2 separate regions of the Homo sapiens genome follow, and region 1 is linked to region 2. Evidence: promoter capture Hi-C in 16 types of primary human blood cells and fetal thymus (Javierre and others, 2016). All regions are on one chromosome and are shown on one strand. Each heading gives the region's core, a stretch centred on a gene start or on the middle of the fragment in contact. The rest is flanking DNA. Distances are from core to core; before and after follow the strand shown. Region 1 overlaps GRIK1 (glutamate ionotropic receptor kainate type subunit 1). Region 2 holds the start of GRIK1-AS2 (GRIK1 antisense RNA 2).

The links. The method cuts DNA at HindIII sites, captures the fragments that hold promoters and counts their contacts. A CHiCAGO score of 5 or more calls a contact.
Region 1: a fragment that was not itself captured here is called in contact with the fragment with the promoter of GRIK1-AS2 in region 2 in 4 of 17 cell types (megakaryocytes, M1 macrophages, M0 macrophages and 1 more); the score reaches 8.0 in megakaryocytes.

Annotation. Positions count from the first base shown.
Region 1 is chr21:29,848,131-29,855,274 of GRCh38, reverse strand. All of the region lies in intron 1 of GRIK1 (glutamate ionotropic receptor kainate type subunit 1), which reads left to right. Among named protein-coding and RNA genes, the nearest start is that of GRIK1, 88 kb to the left of the region's middle. The HindIII fragment of the contact is 225 bases long and covers 2,078-2,302 here.
Region 2 is chr21:29,592,963-29,599,851 of GRCh38, reverse strand. It overlaps GRIK1-AS2 (GRIK1 antisense RNA 2), which reads right to left and starts at 3,812. Exons shown (of 3, transcript NR_033368.1): 1 at 3,074-3,812; 2 at 2,158-2,282. It overlaps GRIK1 (glutamate ionotropic receptor kainate type subunit 1), which reads left to right. Exons shown (of 18, transcript NM_001330994.2): 8 at 915-1,022; 9 at 3,282-3,326. The HindIII fragment of the contact is 3,262 bases long and covers 1,331-4,592 here.

The DNA of each region.
Region 1 (7,144 bases), core at 941-3,440, 260 kb before region 2:
TATTTTACTACTTTAATTTGTGTCTCTTTCACTCCGTAATAAAATATCTCAATGGGCTAGGAATTAGCTTTTTCACCACTGCTTCCCTAGCCCTAAGGACAATGAGTGATATCTCACAGGGTTCCAATACATACTAGTTTGATAGTTTGAGACTACAAGATGACTGTCTATGATGTCAGATCTAGAGCCCAAGTTCAGGTCTTGAAAAGGCCCAAAGTGCCCTCAACAGCTCATGCCCTGGTTTGCAAAAGTGACTTAGTTCTCCAGCTAATGATTTACTTTTTGAATTCAAAAGTCAATTCTAAAAGTCCATTTTTAAGAGGCCTTTTTCTATGATGCAAATATCCCTGGATGAAGCATTACTAAACCATTCGCAACTTCACATGCATTACATCAGTTCAGCCAGCTAGTTTCTTAGAAAAATCTCAAATGATGACCCCTTGACTGTTTAACTTTGATCAAGGAAGAGTGAAAGAAATGATCAGAAGCCTGGGCCTTGCTGGGGAAGACAAACGAATGACATCACTCCCCGGATCCTTGAACCATCATGATCCTAGTTCCTGAGTGCAACTAAAGCAAATAGATGAGAAAACATCATTTCCACTATTTTATATATGATATTTCCTGACAGTCATTTATTCACTGTTTATAATGACCAAAGGGGCTTATATGATCTTCATGTGTGCCTCCATTCTCTGGGAATTTTGTCTACCTCATTCCCCCACCCAAGTCCATTCCAGGCATAGTAATTTCTTGTTTTTTTTTCTCATTATTTTTGGCAGGCTATTTCTTCAAGGCCTCTCTTCCCTCTACCTGGAAAGCTCATCTGCCAAGTGTTTGAAAGCTCACTCCCTGATATCATTTGGATATTTGTCCCCTCCAAATCTCATGTTGAAGTCTGATCCCAAATGTTGGAGGTGGGGCTTGGTGGGGGGGTGTTTGGGTCATGGGAACAAATATCTCATGAATAGCTTGGTGCTATCACCAAAGCAAAGAGTACATTCTTGCTCTATTAGTTTATGTGAGAGCTGGTTATTTAAAACAGCGCAGCCCCACTCGCTTCTCTCTCTCTCTTTCCTCCTCTCTTGCCATGTGATGCAGCTCCCCTTCCCCTTCTACCACAAGTGGAAGCTCCCTGAGACCCTCACCAGAAGGCATCATGCTTCTTGTACAGCCTGCAGAACCGTGAGCTAAATAAACTTATATAAATTACTCAGCATTAGGTATTCCTGTATAGCAACACAGATGGACTAGGCCGCTCACTACTGACTTCCTTCAGGCCTTTGCTCAGATGTCATGGGGGCAGTGAGGACAACCCTGGCCATCCTATTTAAAATTGTGACCCACCCATGCTGCTTACACAGCATCACCTATTCTTTTTACTGTTCTTCTAATTTTTGCCTTAAACTTATCTCCCTCTGACATGCTATATGTTTCCTTTATATGTTTGTTTATTGTCTTGCTTCTTCCACTAGTATGTAAACTTCAGGAAAGCAGGGGTTTTGGTCTGTGTTTCTTTCATCTATTTTCCCAATGCAGAATGGATATTTAATACACGTTGATTTGGTGAATGCTCCTGAAGAGTTTGCTATCAATATGCTAATAAATGGAGGAAATCAGACATTCCCATGAGTCATATGCAGTTGACTAGAGGAAAGCATAGTTGGCCTATTTTTCTCCAAAAAGCTAGATTGGGGAGATTAATTTATAAAAACACAGTAAGTAGAATTAGTAAATACTTTTACTACTGAAATGATTCTCCACTGGAGGCAATTTTGCCCCCAAGAGATATCTGAGTACTAAGAGATACTTGGCTTCCTAATAAACAGACTTTCAGAATTGACTTTTGAATTCAAAAGGTAGCTGGAGGACTAAGTCACTTAGTTCTTAGTCACATCAGAAGTCATTCTTGGCCAAGGGTGCTGCCACATATCCTACGATGTACGGAACAGTCAACAACAACAAAAAATCAGAACCAAAATGTCAATAGTGCTGAGGTTGAGAACCCCTGTACTGCTATGTAAATGTTAAGACTTTTCTTTCAAGTATTGAGCCTTTACTTACTTGAGAGGAAGCTTCATTATGGCACAAATGTCATAGTTACTTTCTTGGAATTGTGAGAGTGTTAAAGATAACATAAAATATTTTGCCAGTAGAGAATGAAGAAAAGTGGTTTACTTAAATTGTTCAGTGAGGCTACAATTCCTTTTATATAAAAGAATATTTTCACTACTTTTAGAATGACACAAAATAGTACTTTAAGAGTGAGAAGATATGTTGATTTTATGCAAATCTTAAAGCTTTGGGATATAAGATCAGAATGAATTACATTACCAAAAGGTTTTTATCTAGACACTCTACATAGTTTATTGATAAATTTGGTATATTTATCAGGGAAGCTTTATAACTTAAAGAAGCACTAAAATAAAAATATATCCCTACTGCAATTTCAAATCTAACTTTGAAATGTAGTAATTTGACACAAGTGCCAAGATGGAAAAAATTATTCCTCAAACTGACATAAGAAAATATTCTCCTATATCATAATGAAATAACATAACACTTTACTTTGTGTAAAGCATTCACCACTTGAAAAACATTTTGATAAATGTAAAGTTTCCTAAATGACTTGCATATTTATGTGGCTGTTCCTTCATTTGCTTCAGCTTTCAGGCCACATTTATTTACTGCCTACAATGTGCCCACTAGGAAGAAAATATCAGTAGTGCACTCGAGTATCTTCCAGTCTAGTAAGAGAGACAAGATGTACAGAGAATGGAGGTAGGAAGTGGAACTGATAAGGGGCCATTGAAGTTTAGCTGGAAGTTGCAGGATGAAGGAAGTCTGCAGAGTACATAGATTTTAGTCTGAATTTTGGGAAATGTATAGAATTTCTACAGGTAGGGGGCCTTCTTGGTAGGAGGAACAGTGGGTAGAGGTGCCCAAGTTACTCAGATGTGAATAGTAACAGTCACTATTTGCATTTAAGCGCAAGGAAAGTGAAAAGTGCTCTGTGGGAGAGAACTAACTATTTAAGTAGGGTCAGATTCCTAAATAATTTGAATGTCAAGCATCAAGGTAGAAGGAAGAAAGAAGTGACAAAGCAGCATTAAGGAAAATCCTTCAAGAACAAAAGAGATGTGAGCTGAGGCTGACATCAGAGACAACTGTGAACTTAGTGCTGACAATGGGAATGGAGGGGTGGGAAGAAATGTGAGAAACTGTGGAAGGAGAAATAGTCAGACTTGAAAATTTTTCCATAGAGGTAAGAAATCAGGGAGAAGGATCAAAGATGGCACTGATATGTCACATCTAAGTAAGTGAACGGAATGGTAGTGTCTTTAAGAGAAACCAGTATACCAGGAGTCAGTGCAGATTTGGGGAAACAGATAATATGTTTGATTCTAAACAACATGTATTGAAGACAGGACATTTCGTCCAAGGGGTGACATCAAGATTTATGTTGCAATTAGAGATCACCAGTTCAGAAGAGAAGTCAGTGCTAAAGACGCTCTTCTTGGAAATGTTTAAGTAGCTAAGAGAGTTGAGGCCATGAGGTAGACTAGTAGCCCTGGCTCTGGAATAGGTGCTGTACATGAATCTCCTCATAGCTCATGAAGTTAGTTATTAGATTCTGTTTTGCAGAAGAGGAACTGTGATCACACAGCTGGTAGGAGTCAGAACCAGGACTCAAGCTAAAGTCATTCAGACTCTGGCATTTCCACTGCATTATAGGGCTAGAAAAGGGAGCAAAGGTAAAGAACAGACTGAAAGTGAGATCCTAGAAGATGCCATGTTATGGGAAGAGGATGTTGTTCACATTTATTGATTTATATCTCCCTTTTGTCTATTATTGCCTTTGTAAACAATCTGTGTTGCTCAAAGATTGCTACTCTCTTGTCTCAAAAAAATCATTTCTAGGCCGGGGGATGTGGCTCATGCCTGTAATTCCAGCACTTTGGGAGGCCGAGGTGGGCGGATCACTTGAGGTCAGGAGTTCGAGACCAGCCTGGCCAACGTGGTGAAACCCTGACTCTACCAAAAATACAAAAGTTAGCTTGGTGTGGTGGCTCACGCTTGTAGTTCCAGCTACTCAAGAGGCTGAGGCAGGAGAATTGATTGGACCTGGGAGGCGGAGGTTGCAGTGAGCCAAGATCTTACCATTGTACTCCAGTCTGGGCAACAGAGAGAGACTCCATCTCAAGAAAAAAAAAAAAAGAAATCATTTCTAGTTGATTCATTTTCACAGACTGATCTGTAAAGCAAATAAGCTAAGAGTTTGTACAGACTGACAGTAATAAAAGGTAGGAATAATATTATTGGCATCTTGAATTCATTTGTGTTAATATCGTAAGTAAAAGTTTGCTCTAAAAGTCTGTTCTTCTAAAATATTAAATTTCCTGCTGAGATACTCTCTGGCTTTTATACAAACATTGTTACTTGTTAGTTACCTTGTAGTAGTTATACTATTTCCCCTGTTATACTGAAGATTCTTACTTCAAAATGAGCTGAAGATGTGACTTATGAGTTTACATAAAATGAAAAAAGTAGTTTTGGTTCTTAATAAAGAGAATTTATGTGCCTGGTACATTGCTAAGACTAAGGAACTGGCAGAGTCCAGATGGAGGCCAAGAATACAAGATGTTATGAGCACTAAACAAGGACTCCAAAATTACTTCCATCAATAACCTGTGGCATCTGCGACCACCTTATCCATTCCTGGGATTCGTTTTTTGTTCATTGTTGTGGTGGTGGTTGTCCTTGTTGCTTTGAATAGGAGTGGCCAGGGGAGAGGATATCTGAGATTGGGTACAGGGTGTGTATGCAGTTAGAACATTAGGGCGATAGCAGTATTATCTTTAATCTTGAACACCTTAGAAATGGATAACACCCAGAGCCACACATCGAAAAGATAGAGATTTTTTAAATACCCTTCAAACTGCTTAATTTGTAGTCCTAACAAAAAAAAATTTACATCTGCTGAATTATGTTCATATCTGTGAGATTTAAGAAATGCTACCCAGGATCTACATAAATGTTCCATTTATGGCAAAGAGAAGATGATTTTGTTTATGAAAAAGAGATAACAAATATTTGAGATAGTTTTTAAGGATCTTCTGTCAGCAAATGTTAATGCAGTAAGGAAGATATCATGATCCTTCTGAAAGTCAGCGAAACCGAACCAAAAAGGGATGACATAAACTTCACGGGCATATGCTATTTTAAGATTTGCACAGATTTCTGCACTCTAAAAAACGTGAGTTTCATGGGGGCTGTTTGTTCTCTCACTCCACACACATATGAGAGGGTGAGAGAGAGTATCTCCAGTAACAGGGGCCATCCACTGTTGGGTTCAGTCATTCTCTCTTAGAGGCACCAGAGGGCACCAGAGGGCATGAAGATCAGAGCAGCAAGCCGCTCTACACTCTGCATCTTTATGCTAGCTTCCACCATAATTAACACCTGCAGAATCCTGGGGTAGTTTTCTCACCATGCACTTGAAATGTGCCAGCTTTTAAGAACCCTTACCGGCACTCATCTCGAATTTAAGGCACACTCTCTCATTAGAGGTAAGCTGAGAAATTGGAGTCAAGGAGTTAAGCAGAGAGAAGGGGATAAGCACATGGACACATTGTCTTTGGTGGTTAAGAGGAACATTGCTAAAAACAAACGGCCTTTTATTGGCCTTTCCTCCTTCCTGACATCACTCTACACTTATCCTTAATGAAGTAGTACATAAGAACTGTGTCTGACGCTCTAAGGAAGGATGGGCGCAGGAAACAAAGTATAACAAAGGAGGCAACACTACAATGACTTAGAGGATTTAGTTTTTAAGAGCTTTTCCCCTATTGATGGATGCTCGACTGATTTTATCTCATCATCAACCTTGGAAGCTATTAGCAGAGGAAATTGCACTTACCATCTGTGATGTCCTGGCAATAACTTAATATTGTTCTGAAGGTTTAATTCAAATCGATTTAATTCAGCAAACATTTATTAATCTCATGAATGTTTGGCACCATACTAGAAGCTAAGGGATACCAAGATGAACAATGCAAAATGTTTTATTTTTACTTCAAAGGTTTTAAAACCTAATAAAATACAAGAAAAATATTAGGAAGTACAATACAGTCTGGGACATGAAAAGAAAAAGTATAAACAATATGCTTAATCATTCATTTATTCATTTAATAAATATTTTGGCAACTATTATATGCCAGGAACTATACTATGTGTGTTTGTAGACCTTGGTTAACAAAACAGATTTGGGTTCTGTTCTGCCTTCACAGAGTCAGTTTGGGAAATGACAGAGTGTTATGATAAAGAAACATTTGGCATGGGAGAAAGTTCCGAAAATCTATTTGAATAGGGTGGAATAAATGAACTTCCATAAGAGACGACATTTAAGAAGAATCAAGTCATCCTAAGGACTAGGAAAAACACATTTTACGTATACCAAACAGCTAAGGTGAAGATCGTGGAAAAAAAAAAAAATATATATATATATATATATATATACACACACAACTTGGTCTATTTAAGGAACCCAAAGAAGGCAAGCTGTAGTATATGTAATAAACGGTATGCAAATGCCAGGCTATATAGAGCCTTGTAGATGATATTAAGAACTGAAGAAAGAGAGAATACATCTAGCCACAGGGATCCACAAATCTTTACAAAGAAGGTTTCCATTTGAGAAGGATGAATAAGATTTTGACAAGCATGATAGTAGAAAGCAGGATTTCTGGATAAAAACAATGTTACGAGCTTAGACACAAAAGTGATAGTTTGTGTATGATTTAGACTCTAATAAGCATCAAGGTGTGAGTGGAGGATTCAATTGCACTAGGCAATTGAATTGTTTGCCATGAGGCCGGAAGCACAGGTTGGAAAACATAATGGAGAACTTGGACAAATTACTGGTTCATTAGGGGCATGAAGGGAAGTCACGGACATTATTAATGCCAGACAGTGATACTGTTGGCATTCCAGCTCAGATAGTCTAATTTAGCAGAAGCATGCATTGTACATTGGCGGGGACAGAAAGAGAATTTAGCATCTCTAGATATCCACATTGATGGCATTAAGGGTCTTAGGGTGGTAAAAGTGCAACTAGAAGCAGCGTACAGATAAAGTCGTTGCC
Region 2 (6,889 bases), core at 2,563-5,062:
TGGGATTACAGGCGCAAGCCACTGCGCCCGACCCTTTTTGTTTGTTTGTTTGTTTGTTTGTGACAGAGTCTTGCTCTGTTGCCCAGGCTCCTGGAGCGCAGTGGAAGGATCTCGGCTCACCACAACCTCCACCTTGCAGAGGGAGCTTTTATGCAGACAGCAGGGGAGGAGGAAATGTGACCACTGAGGCAGAGATTGGAGTGATGCAACCACAAGAGAAGGAGAAATGCCAGAAGCCACCAGAAGCAGAAGGAGGCAAAGAATAGGGTCTTCCCTCGAGCCTCCAGAGAGAGCACGGTCCCGCTGACACATTAATTCCACCCAGTTAACACTGATTTTGGATTTCAGGCCTCCATAACCTTGAGAAAATAAATTTCTGTTGTTTTGAGCACCCACGTTTGTGATTACTTGCTACAGCAGCCACGGGAAATTATAATGCCCAAATGGTGCAAACACGCTAAGTCATAAACAGCCTAAAAACTGCAATACATCATTGGACTATATTAGTCTATATTCTTTTCACAGAGAAAGAAAAAGCAGGGACTCACTTCCACTCAGCCATATCTCAAAGGGAATTTGGATTGACCTTGGAAAACAGAATATTGTGATTTCTCAGATTTTGTGTATTCCGTGTGCAGACTGTTTTACGGCAATTCTTTCCATACTGTCCATTTAGGTAGCCACGATGACAGGTTTGACTGGGTTAGGATGTTAGAATTGACAGAATAAATGAGTGCTAATAAAAAGACGATGTGTTCTGCTATCTTGTCGCTGAACCAATGCAATGGTTTATAACAGCATGATGAAAACAAATAATTGGATACTGTGATGAATTTGAGGTATTATAATTTTGATGGTCTCAGGAATTATGATAAATGTTTAACAATAACAGCCACATTTCTTCTTGTCCACAGGCCCGGTGGGATGGCTTGACTGGGCATATCACCTTTAATAAAACCAATGGCTTGAGGAAGGATTTTGATCTGGACATTATTAGTCTCAAAGAGGAAGGAACTGAAAAGGTAACCTCCTTAACAATAAATAAATAAAATAACAAATGAACATTGTTCAGGCATTTTTACTAAATTGCAAAGACAAGTAGGTGAATGATGAAGTGATTCTCTAAGCATGTTCTTTTACATCCAGTTTTTTATCTCTCTTTCTTTTTTCTGCAGATAGAAGTTGATGTGCTAGATTCTTAAATTTCATGTCTTAGTAATAGCAGTACTAACTAGTGTTTCTATTGTGCTTCATTTACATAGCAAGTGTGATTATATTATTACATATATAACCCTAGAGTTGGGTGTCATTAGGCCCATGTCTTAAAGCTTTTAACAAATTGAGTTTAGACTTGGAAAAGCAGAAGCTATCAATGGTTTATCGATGGAATGGCATCCAAGGGTTACCCAGAAATTAATTTTAATTGCACATTTTATTCCATTTTGAGATTGGTGACAGACAGAATAAAGTAGGATAGAAGAGACTTACTGGAGCAAATTAACTTTGCATTCTTAATTTTAGGACAAATGCCAAAAAACTGTATTTTAATGTTGGGTTCTCATTTTAGGATTATTTTAGTTGTAATTCTGAATCTCTCCATGTTTAAAGTTCTACTTTAGTTATTATTTAGAGTAATTCCAATGTAAACTATTTGGTTAAATAATAATGATAAAAGAATTTGGCTCCTCAATATATTTTACTATGCCAATTTTAATATTCATGACTATACGTCAGAATTAACACTTACAGTTTGAAGATTTTGCACTGACAATCTTATAGAAAAACAATTGAAACCCCCAAAGCAATCACCTCAACAGAAAACTCTATAATCTGACATTTTTTTTCCCACTATAGTGAATAAGACAGTGTGCTTAATGTAAGAGTGGCTTTGGGAACAATCGATTGCTTGATTAATTAGATTAGTTGGGTTGATTTTTTAAAATGAGGTAAGGTTTTCATTTCCGTTTTCTTGCTTTTGTTAACCAGGACACATTTTTTTTGCAGGTGCTAACTACCCCTCCCCCTCAAAAAAACATTAATGGAAACAAAGATCATTTAGGCTGAATGTATTAGAAGGTGACCACCAGTGTGAAATATTTGAGGAAAATAATTTGTTTGCAGTTTTGAGAGTACACATTATACATGCAGGTTACTCACTTCAAAAATGTCTCTCCCATCTTCTGGCTTCCTCTTCACTCTGATTTGCCCCTCTGTTGGTCTGACATGCCCTGATAGAGCACAGGGCATCCAGCCAGTCTCCACGATGGTGCATGGGATGTTGGCTGGAGGGAACAAAAGAAAAAAAATACTTGTTATGATCTAAAAGCCTATAATTTTTTTAAGAAAATGTCTGCTTCTCGAAGCATGAGTCTTTCCCCAACTCTGTTCTCCTCTTATGTATAGCACTGAAGGGGGAAGAAAAGCTGTTAAGGAAACATCTTTTTGGCTAGGTGAATGATGAAATAGATGGAGCTATTGTTATGCTTTCACAGCTATCTATACACCGTAATATTATGCACATTGCATTGGTGTTTTTCCATCAAAGGCAAAATCAAATTAGATGAAAGTGTTTTGTGTTGGTTTCTTATCTCTTCATTGTTTGCAATAACTTTTCTTTCTTCAGGTGTCTTGGGCTCAATTCCTGAGAAGGCTGATTGGGCCTTAAGGCAATGAGGGAAGCCAACACATCTCTCTCAGGAGCCGAGGGAGGAAATGCCCAATCTTTTTATGTCAGCCTCTCTTGGAGTCAATAGGGAAAATTATTAGAAAAATCCCATTCTCACTTTCACTCAAATTTCTACTGCCCAGAAACCCATAATCAAAGAACAAGTCATCAAGCATACTTCTTCTTTATATGTGTGTGTCTGTGTGTGTGTGTGTTTGTGTGTGTGTGTGTGTATTGATTGATTTGCTGGTTGGTTGGTTAATTGATTGATTTTAGTTACCAATGCCTTAAAAGGGTCTTCTTAAGGAACAATGAAGACCCTTAATACTGCAGCATACCTGTATACATTGAAAAGCACTTTAAGGCATTTCTTGGTGTGTGAAAGGAAAAGTAAAAATTGAGTCTTACCACCAGGTAACTTCTGTGAGACCCAAGTCTTGATTCGTCTCTTTGCTGTACCTATTGTCAGGCTTTATATTGAATTAAGATGCAAATTCCAAACAATGGGTGGGAACTGTAACACTCTAAGCACTCACACACCATGATTCCTTCTGGGTTTCACGCTCCATTTTAATTAAGTGCTGTTTTTATTTTATTTTTCTCTCTGAAAACCAAGGCTGCTGGCGAAGTGTCTAAACACTTGTATAAAGTGTGGAAGAAGGTTTGTACTCTGACAACAACTGCAGGAAACCTGGGGGTGGGATGGGGAATGTCATTGGAAAGGCCTGTGCCCTTCCAATGTTACCAGACCTGTAGCTCTCCAATTGCAGTTTAGAAGGGAAGTTCCATGTAAAGAGAGAGGAGTGATTGAATATGTTATCTCTCTCAACAACATCACCTGTGAATTGAAAACAGGTTTGCAGTGGATTAAATAATTATGGATTAAATATTTCCCCCAAGATTATTTTTGTTTCTCCCAGGCAGGATCAGTCCTTGTTAGGATTGAAAGCAGGCAACTGTAACAGAAGGAGACACTGACCTATTTATATTCCTTCTCAAATCACTAAATATTTTCCTTAAGGGGGATAAAAATCACAATAGATTTGATCCATGAGACTAGTCAGATAGGCTACAGCCTCAGAAGGCTAGGACACCTCCTGTAATGTCACCACCACAAAATATGAACCATTTTCAGAAATTTCCTTTTCTCATGAGCTATCTTTTGTTTTGTGTGATATCTTCATCAGAGTATACTGTCTTGCAATTTGTTTTAGAGCCACAGTTCTAAAGAGGACACAAACGTTAGGGACCTTGGAAAGGAAATGAGATTATCTTGTGAATTATAACACCCACTATTTTATAGTTTATTATACAGTGCCATGTTGCCAATGAATGTGCATAGATTTATGTAAGCAAATATGAGACATTAAAAACATTTGGATCAGAGAAATGTCCCCGTGGTAAGCAAACATTTTCTTTCATCTCTTCTCTCTCTTTCTCTTCCTCCTCTCCTTCCTTCCCTCTCTGTCTCTCTCTCTCTAAAACTACTTGGTAAAAAAAATCTATGGACTGATGAATGGACCTTAAATTGCTTCAGGTTGTTCAACTTGAACAGTTTTGTCAGGTTCACTTTCATCTTTCAAATTATCAGCTATGTCACAGAAAGTGTACACAAGTTTCTCCCTGTAGCCAAAAACCTTGTCCCCCTCTTAGTAGTACTCAGTGATGAATTCAAAAATTTTTTCTTTTTAAGTTTTCAAAGCATAGGTTTAAAAGCCTTGTTTTAATCTTCAGTGAACAAGGCTACTAAGTGCATGTAGAAGGCGATCTGGTTTCCTCACTAAAATTTTACTGGTAAATAGATGAACCTAACCGGCACCCAGAAAAAGAAAAAAAAAAAAAAAAACCTATTACACTAATCCATCTTGAGACTCTGGGCACTTTGAATTAATCTAATACAAATGTCCCAGGGAATGGAATCCAAGCTTTGAAATTATATAAAGGGGAGGGGGGATGTCCTCTATTTGTCACTAAACTGCAAGAGCCACACACACTCCCGAGGGTTGTAACTTTCTGATCTTGATCCTCCATGCCTTCATGCCTCTTCCCTCCTGGTAGCCCATCATGTTCCACATTGTAAGTTGTATATACTGTGGTGTGCTGTTTTGTGTTATAACTCCGTCAAAAATTCACGGTAACCTGAGTTCTAGCACAGGCGACCCACTCAGACCCAACAAACACATTGCACTTTTTCCAGAAGTCTCCAACTTAAACAAAAATTCACCTTCATCATATTGAAATCCCAAAAGCTTTCCTCGTACTCTGACTTATTTTAGAATAGTATTATTCACCCAAAATTCTTTCCAAAAGAGGAAGGTAGCAATCTTTACAACATCCCTCACTAAAATATTTGTTATATAAGGTTCGTAATACAGGAAACACATATACCTTTATCTTTGCCCTAGATACCTGATTATTTCCCTCAGCCACTTTAGATGTTGAGTTTACATGAATCACTGTCTAGGTTTAGAAGATAGATACTAGTGGCTCTCTGAATACCCTTTTTATTGCATCGCTTTTTAAAAAAAGTTTGCTTAATGTCATTTGGGCACTCATTTTCAAATGCTTTTCTCAGTTGTCCTAGATAACACATGGCTGCTCCCTTGTGCCAGCTTACAAAGTGAAAGAAATCAGGGCCAGGTAATTTAGATATTGAGTGCTCCTCCCCACAAGTAACTGATCCACCCTCCACTACTTCTCACTGGTAAATGACTACTGTCTGCTTTCACTGTGAAGCTTGAAAACTGAGGTTCCGCTCCCTGGAGGCACTCCTCCTAGTTCGTAGAACAGTACTGAAATGTCAAATGTCCAGGCATCTTCTTAACTGTACCTCTGTCTCCAGCACACATGAATCATGAGATCTGACTTCTTTAAAGGGAGACATTCATTTCCTGAGAACATATTCATTTACTTCAAGTAACAGATAAAGCCACATGACTACTTGGGTTTAAAAGACACAGGTACACACATGCGTGCACATACACACACACACACACACACATACACAGTTCTGTTTTGCTGATTACAGGTTTGGAAACAGAAGACTGAGGTCACTCAGCATATATATACTGTACATTTCCCAGGAATAGCCTGACCTTTACTATATTTTGATACTCTTCTAGTCTACATTTAAAGGACCTTCTGTAGGTCCCTCTGTAGAGACAATAGGGGAAAAAATGGTCACCCTTTTCTCATTTTAAGAAGGAAAGTTTAAACTGAATAGGACTTGGGACTTAGTTGATTGGATTGGCAGCAGCAATGATCTCTTAGCTTCTGCACTTTTAGTGCAGATAGCAAAGGAAAGAAAAACCAGACATCAAGCTGTGGGGTGTATTTGTCTACAAGTTCAAGTTTTATTTTACAAGAGAGTGATATTGCTAGGCTATTGAACACTGTCAGTTTCAAATATTACGGTAGTTCCTCCAACACTCACATACTTGACATTAATAGAAATAAGATTTAAAGAGACCACATCCTATCACTTAATCAAGTGGCTAAAAACAGTTATTTTCTCCACCCTTCAATACTTACTTAATTAAAAATTAGATTCCCTTCTCCTCAGTGTCTAAGTGAAGGTTTAATTAGAAGTACAGTCAGGGCCCAATTTACACACACTCTTCATGGAGCTAGGAGTCAATTGTTCACAACCTAAAGCACAGCCTTGGATGAAAATCAATAGACAGGTATATTTAGCCAGAGTTACATTTCCTAGAAGCAAGGGTCCCTGCCTCAGAAGAAGGGATGGAGATTGAGAAGAAAAAGAAGAAAATGCTGTCCACTTTTCCTGAGTCTAAAGCCAGATTAAGAAACCTAAAGATTCTTCAACCATTAGACGTATAATGTGCATTCTAGGTGATATTTATCACACTAGATCCTGGAAACGTTGGATGGTTATTAAGAGTACAGCTTACAACCCAATAGACACTTCTTTTCAGGCAGGACCACAATATTTTCAAATGCAAAAACTATCCCATTCCCCCATTTACCTATACCTGTCTCTTTATTTCTCCAGTCAACTAACCCTCATTAAGTATAGGAAATAAAACTGAAATTAAAATAGTTCACACTGATGTGTGAACGTGTAATAGTCCTTGAAACTTTTTCAAAGCATTGATGTCTCTAAAAGGGATATTTGTCAAGCTAAATGAATTTCCAGCTGCTAAATATAGGCAATAAATCAGAGTCAAGAAATAGAAAAGCAAAGGAGGATGGAGCCTAACACTC